Regions from separate parts of the Homo sapiens genome. Here region 1 is linked to region 2. The links are contacts of gene promoters, found by promoter capture Hi-C in blood cells and fetal thymus (Javierre and others, 2016). All regions are on one chromosome and are shown on one strand. The core of a region is centred on a gene start or on the middle of the fragment in contact, and the rest is flanking DNA. Distances in the headings are between cores, read along the strand shown.

The links. Contacts are between HindIII fragments. The CHiCAGO score rates a contact against its expected background, and 5 or more counts as called.
Region 1: a fragment that was not itself captured here is called in contact with the fragment with the promoter of ARL1 in region 2 in 1 of 17 cell types (fetal thymus); the score reaches 6.4 in fetal thymus.

The regions. Positions count from the first base shown.
Region 1 is chr12:102,058,515-102,061,540 of GRCh38, reverse strand. WASHC3 (WASH complex subunit 3) reads left to right here. Exons shown (of 7, transcript NM_016053.4): 2 at 195-293. Among named protein-coding and RNA genes, the nearest start is that of WASHC3, 2.0 kb to the left of the region's middle. The HindIII fragment of the contact is 3,599 bases long and covers 1-3,026 here.
Region 2 is chr12:101,406,256-101,409,246 of GRCh38, reverse strand. ARL1 (ARF like GTPase 1) reads left to right here and starts at 1,475. Exons shown (of 6, transcript NM_001177.6): 1 at 1,475-1,605. The coding sequence starts at 1,602. RefSeq lists enhancers at 1,813-1,862, 1,943-1,992. The HindIII fragment of the contact is 1,758 bases long and covers 264-2,021 here.

The DNA.
Region 1 (3,026 bases), core at 1-2,500, 650 kb before region 2:
CTCAAACTTTTGTGCACCTCTGTCATCTTCGGACACCCCACCCACAGCTTAGGAAACAAGTTAATGACTATTCCCAGTCCTTCAAGAAATTCATATCACACAGCAAAGTGCCTCGTGATTATGTCCAAATATGAAAAGATTTGCACTGTGTACGTTCCTCCTGTATGAACCATGTTTGTTTTTACGTAACACAGGTGCCAGCTATTCAACAGAAAAGAACGGTGGCTTTTCTAAACCAATTTGTGGTGCACACTGTACAGTTCCTCAACCGCTTTTCTACAGTTTGTGAGGAGGTAGGTCCGGTGATACTGGTTTATAGAGTCGCCTGGAAATCACCTTTCACTGCTGAGACTGACAAATGGAGTAAAACAAGAATTACAGTCTTTATTCATGTACCGTGACCTCTCATCACCCAATTGTGTTAACACATCTTAGGTTCTCTTTTACTCTGTTAAAATCAATCCTGCACCCCTCCTCTACTGAGTTAGTGTTCTAGAGGTCCCTGTGAGATAGGTCAGTCAGGCTTATTGCGATTAAAGGGAACAATAGGAAATCTAATTTTTTTTTTTTTTTTTTTTTTTTTTGTGAGACAGGGTCTCACTCTGTCACCCAAGCTACAGTGCAGTGGCGCGATCTCGGCTCACTGCAACCTCCACCTCCCGGGTTCAAGCGATTCTCCTGCCTCAGCCTCCTGAGTAGCTGGGATTACAGGCATGCGCCACCATGCCTGGCTAATTTTTTATATTTAGTAGAAACGGGGTTCCAACATGTTGATCAAGCTGGTCTCGAATTCCTGACCTTGGGCGATCCACTAGCCTCGGCCTCCCAAAGTGCTGGGATTACAGGCGTGAGCCACCGCGCCCGGCTTCTAAAATTTCACAGTTGAAAACAGTTTTTATTTTGCAATTTGTCATTCGTTCCCGTACCCCAAAACCACATTGTTTAAATTTATTTTACATTCTGGATCTAAAAGATGGCTAGAGGAGATAGCCTAGAAACATAACTTTGGCATCAAATATGATTATAGAAATGAAAATATTTTCTGCAAATGACTTGTGATGTAAGGATTAAGTACCCAACTAGGGATTAGGTACCAGAACTGGCACAGCAGTGCGCACCTGTAATCCCAGCTACTCGGGAGGCAGAGGCAGGAGGATCACTTGCGCCCGGGAATTTGAGACAAGACTGGACAACAGAGAAACTCAGTGTTTTGTTTTTGTTTTTGTTTTAAAAAAGAGGATTAGGTACTAGATCCAGGATCCAGGGAATCCCTGTCTTTTAAAAAGCCAAAAGAGGATGGGGAAGACAATGGGAACCATGGGTTGAAATTGCATTTAAGGAAAGAGCAAAGTAAATTATGGGACTTAGATATTCACAAGTAAGTCTGTTGAACATTCTGTCTTATGTAAGGTATAGCCTTAGCAATTAGAGTTTTTGTTAAGTGTGTTACTACTATTAATAAAAATTGCATGGAGATGGGAAAACTATTTTTTACTTGTATGAAATTCCAGTTATTGTTTTGTCTAATTATCAACATTTCTTCTGCCTTCTAAGACAAAGTAAAATATAGTAATTGGTAGAGTAAGGGGCTTAATTCAATTTAGTTTTATATGTTAATGGCCAGAAACTAGGTGCTTGCTTCCAGTCAGTTTTATTTCGTTCCTACTATCTCTCTAAATAATTTAGGATATAAAATTGACTGAATAAAAACCAGTAAGCCAAGGTTTTCACCCTTCGATTTTTATACCAGGGCAAGATGGAGAAGTATCTGGAAAGGGACTGTCCCAGGATTACTAGCAGAAAGAAGCAAATACTCTTATCCCCATAGCCCTTATCATCAAGCTGAAAAATAAAGAACAAAGCAACAAGTAAACACACCTATGAAAGCAACTTGTTTGAGCTGTCCTGAAACAGGGATAGCCCTTCACCTTTGTAGTGCCTAATGGTTCTTGAATGAGAGCTGTTTACTGACAACTAGATCAAAGAAAACAATAGTCATCTCATTTATTGATAGATTATGATCAAAGCCTCATGAGTCACTCTTTAACCTCCTCCTGTTCCTGTCTCAACTTCTCTGCAGCTGTTCTGGCTGTATCTGTATTCTAGTACTTCTTTGAACTCTAGAGAAAAGTTTGTTCATCAAAACCTCATGAAGTTTAAAGGTAGTCTATTGCCTTTTGTCCTTTTTCAAAAATCTTATTTCTTTATTTAAATTGACAGGTAAAAATTGTATTTTTATGATGTACAACATGATGTTTTGATATATGAATACATTGTGGAATGGCCAAACCAAGCTATTTAACATAAGCAATGCCTCACGTACTTACTTTTTTTTGTGGTGAGCACACTTAAAATCGCCTCTCTTAGCAATTTTCAATACAATATATTGTTATTAACAGCAGTCACCATGACATGTAGGAGATCTCTTGAACTTATTCCTCCTGCCTAACTGAAATTTTGTATCCTTTAACCGCATCTCCCCAATCCTCTTAACCCCAAGCCCCTGCTAACCACCATTCTACTCAATATTTCTATGAGTTGTACTTTTTTATCCTCCATATATAAGTGAGATCATTCAGTATCTGTCTCTGTTTGACTGGCTTATTTCATTTAACACAATGTCTTCCAGTTCATTTATGTTGTCACAAATGACAGGATTTCATTCTTTTTTAAGGCTAAATAGTATTCCATTGTGTATATATACCACTTTTTTTAATCCATTCATCCATTGATGGACACTTTTGATTCCGTATCTTGGCTATTGTGAATAATGTTGCAGTGAACTTTCAAGTACAGATGTCTCTTGAATGTACTAATTTTACATCCTTTGGATATATACCCAGAAGTGGGATTGCTGGATCATATAGTAGTTCTATTTTTAATTTTTTGTGGAACCTCTGTACTATTTTCTATAATAGCTGTACTAATTTACATTCCCACCAACAGTGTACAGAGGTTCCCTTCATCACATATATGGTTTCCAAATATAGTCTCCCATTCCATAGGTTCTCTTCACTCTATTGATG
Region 2 (2,991 bases), core at 226-2,725:
CTCAAGGGATCTGCCCGCCTCGGCCTCCCAAAGAGCTGGGATTACAGGCCTGAGCCACGACACCTGGCCGACCTTAAATATTCTTAGCACAAAATAAACATATACACACAAGCACACACGACTATGTGAGGTGATGGGTATGTTATCATTTCACAACATATACAACTATGAAAACATCACATGGTACACTGTAAATATATACAATTTTTATTTAAAGCTAGAAAAATTCTTTTAAAATAAACTAAAAAGGCAGTCCATAAGCTTCTGTTGAATGGATGAAAATCTCTACCATAAATAAAAACATAATATGCAAAGGTATTAATAAGATTTGGAAGAAAACCTAAGAGAGTATTAACAGTAGTGACTACTGGGGATCACCGAGATACAGGGTATTAGGGATGGAAGGTTTACTTTTCTCTTTTTTTTTTTGAGACGGAGTGTCGCTCTGTCGCCCAGGCTGGAGTGCAGTGGCACGATCTCGACTCACTGCAACTTCTGCCTCCTGAGTTCAAGTGATTCTCCTGCCTCAGCCTCCTGAGTAGCTGGGACTACAGGCGCCCGCCACCACGCCTGGTGAATTTTCTGTATTTTTAGTAGAGACGGGGTTTCACCGTGTTAGCCACGATGGTCTCGATCTCCTGACCTCGTGATCCGCCCGCCTCGGCCTCCCAAAGTGCTGGGATTACAGGCGTGAGCCACCGCGCCCGGCCGGAAGGTTCACTTTTCAATGGATCTTTGGGAAGTTTCAAAACATACATGCTCAACCTTTAAAAATTTCTCTAGGGGAAATCCCTTCTCCACATCCTATAGGTGTGCTTCCTTCTTCCTCTCCACACACTTCACTATCAAAACCTACATTACTTCCAACAGTCGACCCTCGAGGGAATAAGTCCCTGGTCCCCACGATCGGGACCAGCCAGTCCACACTGCCGACCCCTGAAAGGCGGTCTCAGCTGCTCGGTCAGCGAGAAAAAAAGCCGGCGAGGTCCTCGTCCTGCAGGCCACAGCGAAGACAAAAACCTCTGGTTACTGGCCTCAGGTGCAAGGCTGCTCCGCATTGGCAGCGCGGTACCATTCCTATTATTATTACGTAGTCTTGTTTCTTTCTGGGAGAAAGCACCTAGGGAGAGTTGGGCTGGCCCCGCAGGGCGCTCCGGGACACGCGTCCTCTGCAACGCCGCAGCCTGCGCCAGCGTTCGACCGGGACGACTCATCGAGGCCCGACTCGCATTTTCAGTTGTCAGATTCGCCACTTTTTGGTGTCAGAATTTAAAACAAAAATTCCAATTTCTCTATTTCAGAAGCTCTTTCTGTCCAGAAAAACACAAGCAGGAGAGACTTCAGGTTTTTGAATTATTCGTCTCTTCTGGCCTCCACGGTATCTACATCCAGTGAGCGGGGACCGTGAGTCGAAAGCGACGACGCGGATGCTCAGGCCACCGTTCCCGGCGCGCAGTCGCAGCTGACCCTCGCTCCCGCCCCCGCCTGGAGTCCGACGTGGAAGTTGCTGGCTGACTGGGCTTGCGAGGAAACCGCCTCGGAGCTGCAGCCGAAGGCCAAGGAATCACTGAAGATCGGCGAGGGAGGACAGGGGGTTCATCATGGGTGAGGGGTTCGAGAAGGGCACCTGGGCGCGCTCGAGGGAGCCGCGGCCGAGGGCTGGGGTGCAGAGGAGGAGAGGGGCCGGCCAGGATACCCTAGAGTAGCCAGCTCCTCAGGGGGCGGGTCGCGGAGGACTTGACTCACTTTGGATCTTCATCTGTAGGGGTGGATCCGGCCTCTCGCGTTCTCCTCCGTCCTCTCTCGGTTCCCCTTGATTCCTGCGGGGTCCAGGGACCCGGACAGCTTGGGGACGTCCGCAGAGCCTGGGTTCGAGTTCTTTACCCTTATCATGAAGTTTTCCCTCATCCCCAGCTCCACTTGCTGGGCAGAGTTGTTCTTGCGGAGGCTGGCAACGCGTCAGTCGCAGGTTCGCCGAGGTTTCTTGGTGAAAGATGAGCTGCGGCCCCAGAGTGGAAGCTTAATCATTCTCTTTACCAGGGGCGCTGGGACGGCGTCAGTTTGAAAAACCTGAGAGCAGGTGTTGCTTATGTTGTTTTATGGCCAGTTTGGCATTTGTCTGCTAATCTGCTGTAGCGTTTCATGTAATAATACGGGTATTTCTAGTCGGCAAATGAAACTTTATTCTTGGTTCTTGGCCCGCTGATTGAGGGAACTGCATTCTCACAAGCATCAGGTAACACCCTCGCCCCGCTAGAACCCAAGTGAGGGTGCACATTCTTTAACTCGTTTCTCACCCTCCAAATGAAGGTGCAGATTCTTTGGCTTGGTTAAATCCCTCCACAGTTTTCTGGGGAGCATACTTCTTGCTCCCAAGCATCACAGGCGCTGTCCTGTCTTCCATAACCGCCTTCAGTTTTGTTCCGCCTCTCTTCTACCTGTAAATGGTAGAAAGGACTTTGTCAAGTCACACCTATTCTGTTGAACTTTCCCAAGGTTCTCTAGCCCATGGTGTTGTTCATTTTTCAACTCGCAGCTCTTAGTTATGCCATGTCTTTGCCAAATAACAGTGTGGCATCACTTCTGATGTTAACTATTTTTTTTTGTATTAATGTAACTTGTTTTTAATCTTCTCTAATGGCTCTGGATGGGAAAAGGACTGTGCTTTTTATCCTACACAATACTTGGTGTACAGGAAGCTTTCTGGGAATATTTTGTGATGCATTGGATAGAGCTTTATTATTTTTAAAAGTGGGTTTTTTGTCAAAAATAGTTATTGTTTTCAGCTTTTTTCTCAATTTCTTGTACTAGCTATATTGCTTCGTGGAGAACTCTGATTGAAGTTGGTTATAGTGGTACTGCTGCTGTACAGTACTTTTCCTGTGCGAGGATTACATTGTCCCACTATCCTCCTTACTGGCCCCTTGGTTTTTAGGGGTAGTGAGGGGATCATGCTAAAATATTCCTATTCTGCTGATTAGAAAATGAGAT